Linked DNA regions of Homo sapiens: all the other regions are linked to region 1. The links are contacts of gene promoters, found by promoter capture Hi-C in blood cells and fetal thymus (Javierre and others, 2016). All regions are on one chromosome and are shown on one strand. The core of a region is centred on a gene start or on the middle of the fragment in contact, and the rest is flanking DNA. Distances in the headings are between cores, read along the strand shown. Region 1 holds the start of RAB2B (RAB2B, member RAS oncogene family). Region 2 overlaps HNRNPC (heterogeneous nuclear ribonucleoprotein C). Region 3 has its middle 10 kb from the start of LINC00641.

The links. Contacts are between HindIII fragments. The CHiCAGO score rates a contact against its expected background, and 5 or more counts as called.
Region 2: a fragment that was not itself captured here is called in contact with the fragment with the promoter of RAB2B in region 1 in 3 of 17 cell types (monocytes, naive B cells and naive CD4 T cells); the score reaches 5.5 in monocytes.
Region 3: a fragment that was not itself captured here is called in contact with the fragment with the promoter of RAB2B in region 1 in 1 of 17 cell types (naive B cells); the score reaches 5.1 in naive B cells.

The regions. Positions count from the first base shown.
Region 1 is chr14:21,475,428-21,478,999 of GRCh38, reverse strand. It overlaps RAB2B (RAB2B, member RAS oncogene family), which reads left to right and starts at 2,041. Exons shown (of 8, transcript NM_032846.4): 1 at 2,041-2,173; 2 at 2,401-2,472. The coding sequence starts at 2,128. It overlaps TOX4 (TOX high mobility group box family member 4), which reads right to left and starts at 1,805. Exons shown (of 9, transcript NM_014828.4): 1 at 1,716-1,805; 2 at 1,436-1,504. The coding sequence starts at 1,721. RefSeq lists enhancers at 1,855-1,924, 2,505-2,624. The HindIII fragment of the contact is 9,465 bases long and covers 1-3,572 here.
Region 2 is chr14:21,212,957-21,216,428 of GRCh38, reverse strand. HNRNPC (heterogeneous nuclear ribonucleoprotein C) reads left to right here. Exons shown (of 9, transcript NM_004500.4): 6 at 3,312-3,469. Among named protein-coding and RNA genes, the nearest start is that of LINC00641, 7.8 kb to the right of the region's middle. The HindIII fragment of the contact is 591 bases long and covers 1,712-2,302 here.
Region 3 is chr14:21,195,216-21,198,427 of GRCh38, reverse strand. No RefSeq gene overlaps it. Among named protein-coding and RNA genes, the nearest start is that of LINC00641, 10 kb to the left of the region's middle. The HindIII fragment of the contact is 3,037 bases long and covers 147-3,183 here.

The sequences.
Region 1 (3,572 bases), core at 792-3,291:
TCTACAAAAATTCAAAAAAAAAAAAAAAATTAGCTGGGTGTGGTGGCGCACACCTGTATTCCCAGCTACTTGGGAGGTTGAGGCAGGAGAATCACTTGAGCCCAGGAGGTGGAGGCTGCAGTGAGCCAAGATCGTGCTACTGCACTCCAGCCTGGGCTACAGGGAGACTGTCTCAAAAAAAAAAAGAAAGAAAAAAAAAGTTAAACTAGCAACTGGCCCTTGTCAACCCCATTTTCATCCATGAAAACGTTAGGATTATAGGATAAGCCCATGCAACAGCCACTGACAATTCTTGGTAAAAAAAACTGATGCAAATGGTCCACACCACTTTTGAAAATAAATATAAAAGTCCTCAAAAAATGGCAGATGGTTCAAGACTTCAGTTTCTCAAAGACAGAAATTTTTGTCTGTTCCACCATTCTCTTTTGCCTCTCCCAAACAAGTGATACATATCTATATTATGACAATATTTCAACCAAACTTTTTTAACGAACACTTCAGGGTTTCATCATAACCTTTACTTCTACTTTAAAACAGCATAAGAAACTATAATTACAGCTGTTTGACAGCTGGGGAAACTGTGACATACAAAGATGAAGTAATGTGCCCAACGTCTGAGTCACTGGCAAATTGAAACACATGTCCTACTCAACTCTTTTATATTCTCTAGCAGCTATTTCCTTTCCTCCTGACATTAGCAAAACAAGCTGACACCATGTAGGTAAAGGTAACCACAAATTTTTTATCAAAGTAGGAAATTTAGGCCGGGCGCAATGGCTCAGGCCTGTAATCCCAGCACTCCGGGAGGCCGAGGTGGGTGGATCACCTGAGGTCAGGAGTTCGAAACCAGCCTGGCCAATATGGTGAAACTGCCATCTCTACTAAATATACAAAAATTAGCCGAGCGTGGTGGCGCACGCCTGTAATCCCAGCTACTCGGGAGGCTGAGGCAGGAGAATCGCTTGAACCCAGGAGACAGAGGTTGCAGTGAGCCGAGATCGCACCACTGCACTTCAACCTGGGCGATAAAGCGAGACTCTGTCTCAAAACAAAAGAAAACCAATAAGCTCCTCCCCTCAACCCCAATTTCTTCAGCTGCTGAAACATTTTCTTTCCACTGCGATCCCCTAAGATTACTGTAGCTATTTCTCCCCAGAGAAAGGAGACAATTCCACTCTGTCTTCTAATCCAGAATCCCTTTTCTCTTTAAACAGGTTATCTCTTTCCAATACCTTGCTTTCTGATGACAGCAACTTCCCAAGACTTCCCCAGATAGTCCCCACAGGCTCTAGAAGCAACCGCCACTTTTCTCTAAACACCAATTGCGGCCCTTGGTTCCCAGCCCCCGTCCCCGGAGTCCGTGCTCTCCTCCCCACTACCCTACCCCACCGCTGCCTCAGGCCCTACCCCCGCGGCGTCGGCAGCTCTGGCTCACCTCGGCCCCTGACAGGAAGGGGTGCGAAGGCCCTGTGATCGTCAGGTAATTGTCATTTCCTCCGGGAAACTGGAAACCAAAAGAAAGTCGCGGGGATAAGTTAGGGGGAGCAGGGAGTCAGCTTGGAGCGATGGCTTTTGACCCTGACATTCTGACAACACTCCCCAAACCCCGCTCTCTCTCCTCTCCCGTCAGTCGCCTCTCCGCCCGGCTTCCCGTCCCTGCTTCAACCCGGTCGGCCGCGTTCTCTCGCCAGCCTTCTTAGCTATCAGGTTCCTACCTCCATCTTCACACAACCGCTCCCACCGTCTCAGACCCTCATCGCTCCCACCGCCCCCACTGGACTCGGAACTGCCGTCACTTCCGCAAGGACGTGTGTTCTCTCTGCTGATTGGAAGGAGCGCCGTGGGGCTGCAGAGAGTCAGGCGCTGGGCTATCGCCCCCTGGAGTTTGGAGGGATAAGGGCATGTAGAAGTGCTAGAAGCGTCCCTGGAGGTGGCGTAGGGTACTCCCGACCTAAGGATGATTCCGGGGAGTGCAATAGAGACGTGATCTGGGCTAGAGGAGCCGGAGGGGCGGGGGAGCGGGGGGAAGGGGGAGAAGAAGAAGATCGGTAGATTGAGTGGCTAGAGAGGTCGGAGGTAAGTGGCTATAGAAGTCGGGCGGACCCGGAACCCAGAGGACGCGACACCATGACTTATGCTTATCTCTTCAAGTATATCATCATCGGAGACACAGGTAACCCTCAGGTGGTTCGCCTTCAAGGCTCGGGCGGGCATTCGAAGCTCCCAAATTGGGTGGCGGGGGCGGGGCTCACTTTGTGGGCTGGGCGATTCGAGACGGGCGGGGCGGTTCGGGGCGGCCGGGGGCGGGGCTCGGGAGCCCCCCTTCTCTGGTCCGGGAAGTCCATACTCTGGAAGGTGTTCCAGGGCTGCGTGATTCCGGGAGTGTGCTTTCTCTTTCAGGTGTGGGGAAGTCATGTCTCCTCCTGCAGTTTACAGATAAGCGGTTCCAGCCTGTCCACGACCTCACAATAGGTAAGTGCATCTACTTGTTCCAGAACAGATGATAAAACCTGACTAGCTAAATTGCTAAAGTGGAAAGTTAGCAGCCTTCAGTGTTCGAAGTAAAAAGTTACCCCTCACTACTTTAAACTAGTCCAAACTTATGTTAATGAAGTGACCAATGAAACGTTGATATGTGGGGAGTAGTGTAAGGGAGAGTATATAATTGAAAGGTAACTTTTTAGAGTGTGAGGTATAGACTCGTCATATAATTTTTTTTCAAATACAATTTGTATGTTTATGGAAAATCCCACGAAAGCATAACTGCTTATTTATGAACTCATCTGTGCTTTGAGGTAAATTAATACCAGCCTTACTTTTAAAAAGTAAACACCAATACATGGACATTTTTTATATTGGTGAAGAAGCAAATTGAGGAGTCATCCCTGCCTTAGAATTAATAGGCAAATAAAACTAAAAACTTTCCTTTTAAATGAAAGAGTGTGTTAACAGTTCCTCAAACGCACTGGCGATCCTGGAAAATATTAACCTTTCCCACACGTTTGTGATAAGGCATGGCCTGAAGAGGCTTTTAACTACCCCCTCTTCGTTATCTCCGTAACCCCAGTCCAAATAAACAACATATATGAAACTAGCTTTCTTGCCATGCAAATGCAGTTTCTAAATAAACCCCTACATCCCCATTCTTACCATATTGCTACTTCCAAGTCCCACCTGTATGGAAACCTGAAGCTACCACTGTTCCTAACGGATTTATTTAGAGTCAAATAATTGATGGGGTTAGAAAAGGATTTGGCAGTATCAACTAAAAGGTATTTTAAAGGGAATATTGAGCGAATTCTCACTTTGCGATAGGGGCTAATGATACAATGCTTAACAAGGCAACAATGCTTAATTGTGCCTCTGGCAATTATTGGAAATGTAAAATGTATTGTTAAAAAAATTAGGTGGGCGTTGTGGCGTGTGCCTGTAAGGTACTTACTTGGGAGGCTGAGGCAGGAGAATCACTTGAACTCAGGAGGTGGAGGCTGCAGTGAGCTGAGATCGCACCACTGCACTCCAGCCTGGGTGACGGAGCGAGACTCCATCTCAAAAAAAAAAAAAAAAAAGTA
Region 2 (3,472 bases), core at 758-3,257, 260 kb after region 1:
GCAAAACAGATTATTTCAATCTGTTCACATTTTTAAGATGAGAATCAGCTGTGGTCCATTAAATGGTCCATGTACCAAATGATAGCTTTATTATTAATAGATTAACGTCTACTCTGGTGTAGTGTTGACATGTATTACTAGGTTTTTTGAGACCCAGGAAATGTCACTGTTTGCAGCTAATGTCTTATGGTCAGAATTTCCATTTAAGAAGCTTCCCTTTGAAAACCTCTTCTTAGTACATGTCTTGTAATGCTTTTACTTTGGAATTGGGGTAGACATTCTTTGTCTTTTTTTTTTTTTTTTTTTTTGGTGGTGGAGGAGACAAAAGTTTTTACTCTGTCGCCCAGGCTGGAGTGCAATGGCTGTCTGCAACCCCCACTTCCTTCCTGGGTTCAAGCAACTCTCGTGCCTCAGCCTCCTGCGTAGCTGGGATTACAGGTGTGCCACTGCATCCAGCTGGTGTGTTTTGTTGTTTTTTTTTTCTTTTTCTTTTCCTTTTCTTTCTTTCTTCCTTTCTTTTTTTTTTTTTTAAGACGGAGTCTTGCTCTGTCACTGAGGCTGGAGTACAGTGGAATGATCTCAGCTCACTGCAACCTCTGCCTTCCAGATTCAAGCAATTCTTCTGCCTCAGCCCTCCTGAGTAGCTGGAATTACAGGCGTGTGCCACCATGCCCGGCTAATTTTTGTATTTTTAGTATACACGGGGTTTCCCCATGTTGGTCAGGCTGGTCTCAACTCGTAACCTCATGATCCACCTGCCTCCGCCTCCCAAAATGTTGGGATTACAGGCATGAGCCTCCACACCTGGCTGGTGTATTTTGTCTTAATCTGTTCAGGTGATTAATGTCTCTAGAGTGTTTTAATTTCTTAATCTGACTAGATTTTATACCAACACCATCAAGTTTGATTATGGGTGCAGTTACAATTCTCCTAGGGTTTAGTCCTTGTTCCCCTGGTAAAAGATTTTAAACAGCCTAGCCTTAATCAGTAAGTAATCAGCTATTGTTGCCTCATCTATTGTATAGCTTTCTCATAGTGAGAATTTCCGCTTAATTTTTAGCTGGTGCTTGAAGTAGTCATACTGAGCTTCTTAATATATATCCCTTTTAACTTAAAGGTTGTCACACTATGTATGTTTTTTTTCTATTTTCACACTTACCGTCCTCAACATTTTTCGAGGCAAGGACTACTTCCTCAGATGTGAATGAGAGTCCATTTCTGCCTGAGCAGCATTCTGTGTAACTAAAAGCCTTAACTGGCTGAAATATTTTGAAATATTTTTCTTCAGAAAAGTAGAGAATTTGACTCCTAATTGTGTTCATGAGACTGTTACATAGATTCAAAACAAAACTGTATTACTTGCTTTATTTTGGCTGTGGTCAGACGAAATAGTAGGTTTTAAAAAGAAATTCCAGTGATAGTACAGAACTAGCTAGCTAGCTCATTGGTTTAGATACGGGTGCCGGTGAAGGTTTGTGGCTTAGGAGGTAGATTAGATATTTATTTCCATTGGACTGAGGCTTAAGCTCAGTTTAATGCTCATGGATATGGATAACTTATTTTGATTCACCTCCAGAAATTGTCGTTAAGCAATTTGTGTTTGTGCAAGTGTTACCATCTCTCACAAAGGATATGAGTTTCTGAACACTGATATTTTATAGTTTCTGTATCATTATACTTTGCAAGATTTTGGTCAAAAAGACCAAAAGCTTTATGTCAAAATGGGAAAGTAGTGATAATAAAAAGTTACTCAGTATCTTTTTCTTTGCATTAATTCCCATGAATGGATTAAACTAAGAGATTAACCATACTTAGGGGAAATGCAAACTTTTTTCTGTTTTCTTTTTTTTTGAGACAGTGTTGCTCTGTTCCGCATGAGTGCAGTGGTGCAGTCATGGTTCTCTCACCTCCTGGGCTCAACCTGTCTTTCCATCTCAGCTTTCCTTGCTCTTTTAATTTAGGAAAATGTTCCTGTCCATAGCCACTCCTGGGACAAGATTAAACATTGCTTTGTTGAAATAGTGTGGAAACACTTTTAAGTTAACAGAGGAGAGAATTAGCAATGAGATCTTGTAAATGTTTTCACTACAGGAAGATTGGAGATATTACAACTCAGAATAACTTGCCACTATTGTATATATATAAGAGGGAGAATCATGACAAAGGTGATTAATAATATTTTTAAAGTTCTTGACTATCACATTTGTTTTTTAAGAAATATTTGGAGTTAGAACAGTTGGTAGGTGTATTTTTATAGAGTACCTGGGCCTTTGCATTAAGTTAGTTGCATTTTTAAAAAGCTTGCAGAATTGAAGACCTTTTCATACGTTGCCATAGGTTCTTATATGGAAATGACAATGTGGAATGTAGAAAGTTTAGAACTGATGTCCATGTAAGAAGTATTTTGTTCTGTTTTGAATTTTCTCTTTACAAATGTAAGTGTACCAAGCCACTGCTTTGGTGTATCTTTATCAATCACTGGGATACTAAGTTTAAGACATTTGAAATTAAGATTTCTAATAGAAACAGCAATTAGTTGAGCAACCAGTGTTTATTGAGTGCTAAGTGTGTACTGGCCAGTGAATTTAGACATAGGTGAGTAGTGAACAAGATAGACAGTGGTCTCTGCCCTGTTGGAATTAAGCGTAAATTTAGTTAGAAATGATACTACCTGTTTTTATATGAGGTATTTTTTATCAGTAGTATTTATACCCAGCCAACACATTTTGCTATGATTCCCTCAGTTACATGAAATTGCCCTGATTTTATAGATCTGAAATTTTATATGGTTCAACCTTATATCACTAGTTGTAATAATTCGTGTGCTTCTGTGGGTGAAAAGAATCAGAGATTTCGCTAATGCCATATACCACTGTTTATATACCCTTTTAATTGGAACATTTTAAAGAGTATTTGACCGTATGTGAATTGTTTATTGTAATGTATATTTGAAAATAATAAGATCCAAAGGCTATTCATTATAATAAATGCCCTGTTAATACTGACACTAGTACAGAGGAATCATTTATATCCAGTGCCAAAGGCCAGCCAACCATATAATTTGATATATGTTTTATTTTCCTGAGGAAAAGTTGCTACAGTATTACAACTATTTTATGTGCCTAGGTAAAGAAATAATGGGATAAGATTTCTAAACCCCACTGTGGAGGTTTTTGCTGGCCTTCTTAATGAAATTTAATAAAAGGAAACGACTAGAGACAATATTCACTTACTATTTATCATAAGGTCTGTTGAATTGTGCTGAGTTAATGTTAGGTTTGAATGAATTCCATTTTCCTCTTATCCAATAGGATGTACAGTTACCCAGCACGTGTACCTCCTCCTCCTCCTATTGCTCGGGCTGTAGTGCCCTCGAAACGTCAGCGTGTATCAGGAAACACTTCACGAAGGGGCAAAAGTGGCTTCAATTCTAAGAGTGGACAGCGGGGATCTTCCAAGTCTGGAAAGTGTA
Region 3 (3,212 bases), core at 416-2,915, 280 kb after region 1:
ATTTTTAGTAGAGACGGGGTTTCACTGTGTTTGCCAGGATGCTCGCTCTCCTGACTTCGTGATCCACCCGCGTCGGCCTCCCAAAGTGTGGTGATTACAGGCGTGAGCCACCGTGCCTGGCCTCCATATGAATTTTAGAATAAGCTTGTCTATTTCTAAAAATATTGACTAGGTTGTAAACAGCCCCACAGGTTCATCTTGCCCGCTGCCTAGACGGAGCCGATTTATCAAGATGGGAATTGCAATAGAGAAAGAGTAATTCACACTGGAGTTTTATTACTCATCAGTCTCCCTGAGAATTTGGGGATTGAAGTTTTTAAGGATAATTTGGTGGGTAGGGAGAAAGTGAGTCTGAGTTCAGACAGGGAGTTCTGATTGGCCAGAGATGAAATAATAGGGAGTCAAAGCTATCCATCCTCTTGTGCTGAGTCAGTTCCTGGGTAGGGGCCACAAAACCAAATGAGCCAGTTTATTGATCTGGGTGGTATCAGTTGATTCACTGAGTACAGGATTTGCAAAATATTTCAAGTACTTATCTTAGGTTTTATAATAGTGTTGTTATCCACTGGATCAACTTGGGAAGGGTCAGAATCTTGTAGCCTCTAGCTGCGTGAATCCTAAACCATAATTTCTGATCTTTTGGCTAATTTGTTGGTCCTACAAAGGCAGTCTAGTCCTCAGGCAAGAAGGGGGTTTGTTTTGGGAAAGGGCTGTTATTATGTTTGTTTCAAACTATAGACTGTACATTAAGTTCCTCCCAAACTTAGTTTGGCCTACTGTCAGGAATGAACAAGAGCAGCTTAGAGGTTAGAAGCAAGATGGAGGTTAGGTCAGATCTCTTTCACTGTCTTAGTTATAATTTCGCAATGATGGTTTCATTATAATAGGAAATATGTTAGATCTGTATATTAATTTGGGAGAATTGAACATGTTTGCCATGCTTAGTCCTCCAATCCATGAACATGGTATGTCCTTCCATTTATTTTGATCTTTGATTTATTTTATCATTGGTTTGTAGTTTTGAGCATACAGATCCTGTACAGGTTTTGTGAGATTTACACCTAAGTATTTAAGTATTTTTTTAATGATTGCAAATGATATTGTGTTTTAATTTCATCTTCTCCATGTTTATTACTGGTCTATAGAAATATAATTCATTGAGACCAGCCTGAGCAACATTGTGAAACTCCGTCTCTACAAAGAATACAAAAATTAGCCAGATGTGGTGGCACATGCCTGCAGTTCCATCTACTTGGGAGGCTGAGGTGAAAGTCTCCTTTGAGTTTGGGTTGCAGAAGTTGTAGTGAGCTGAGATCATACAACTGCACTTCAGCCTGAGCAACAAAGCAAGAACCTGTCTCAAAAAAAAAAAGAAAAGAAATATAATTCATTTTTATATGTTGATCTTGTATCCCGCAACCTTACTGAACCCTTTTACTGGTTTTACTGTTTCTTCTACCACTCTTTTTACTGGAGTACAGTGGCATGATCTCGGCTCACTGCAATCTTCGATTCCTGGGCTCAAGCGATTCACCTGCCTCAGCCTCCCAAGTAGCTGGGATTACAGGCACCCGCCACCATGCCCAGCAAATTTTTGTATTTTTAGTAGAGATGGGGTTTCACCATGTTGGCCAGGCTGGTCTCGAACTCCTGACCTCAGGTGATCCACCCACCTCAGCCTCCCAAAGTGCTGGGATTACAGGCATGAGCCACCGTGCCCAGCCTTTTTTTTTTTTTTTTTTCTTTTCTCTTTCTTTTTAAGAGATGGGGTCTCCCTACATTGCCCAGGTTGGTCTTGAACTCCTGACCTCAGGTCATCTGCCCACCTCGGCCTCCCAAAGTGCTAGGATTAGAGGCGTGAGCCACCATGTCCGGCACTGTTTGTTTTATAATAGCATCCTAATGAGTGTGAAGTGGTATCTCAATGTGGCTTTGATTTGCATTTACCTAATTATTAATGATGTTGAGCATCTTTTCATGTGCTTATTGACCATTTGTATATCTTCTTTGGTGCAATGTTTGTTAATTCAAGTTCTTTGCCCATTTCAAAATCAGGTTGTTTGTTTTAATGTTGTTGAATTGTAGCAGTTATTTATATAGTCTGGATAGCAATTTTTTATGAGATATATGACTTGCAAATATTTTTTCCCATTTTGTGGATTGCATTTTCACTCTGTGGGTAGTATTTTACAGTGTTTTTGAGGGTATCTCTTTTTATAGTTGTTTTGAGTGGTTGCTCTAGGTGTTGCCTTATACATACAAAATGGATTACAGTATACTACTATTGTTTTACCATGTCAAGTGAAATGTAGAAAATTTACCTTATTTATATACCTTACCCTCCCCATTCATAATACAATTGTATTAAATATTTCCTCTACCTATTAGAGAACCTCATTAAATAATTTTATGATTTTTGCTTCTACTGTTAGCAGTGGCAGAGATCTGAGTTACCCCAAGGTACCAGCAGCCTATCTGTATGGGTCCATGGCAAGTTCCAGAGCAGGAATGGAAGTTTATTTAAAAAGGCCTTAGAATAGGAAAGAAAGGAAGGTGCGCTTGGAATAAAAAAAAAAAGCAGGCACATGAAGTTTAATAGAGAAGGTCAAATGCCGTTTAACCATGATCCTAGGACTTTCGTAAGTTTGCCTCTTTCCCAGGATTCTTCCCATAGGGTGGGCTTTCCGCATGCCCAGTGCTTTCCTTACCCTTTGGAACCGAGCCTGTTCAGTGTGTTTAGGGAGTTATATGCATGCCCAATCTGAGGCTTTCTTCCTTTTTCTGGTGGTGCGTCCCCAGAAAATCATACTTCACCATTTTTGTCTCTTAACATCCATGACCAGGAAGTTGCTTCTCCCTGGAACCTGCATTCAATTAACAGGTGTGGACCATCAGGAAATGGCCTCTCCCTGGCCCTGCCACATTATCATTTTTAGAGAGGCAATGTGGTAACTGCCGAACCATCACCAGACATTTCTAATGGGTGCAGGGAGAGTCAGTCCTCTCCTGTGCCACTCATGCCTGACTACCTGTAATACTGCCGTCAAATGTAATCTTTTTAAAAACCAAGAAGATAATTTTTTTGTTGTTGTTAACCATGTTTTTACCCTTTCCATTGTTCTTTTCTCATTACTGCTATTTAAAGATTCCTTCTTTTATCATTTTCCATCTGTTTCGAAAGCTTCCTTCGGCCATTTTAAAGGATAGATTGG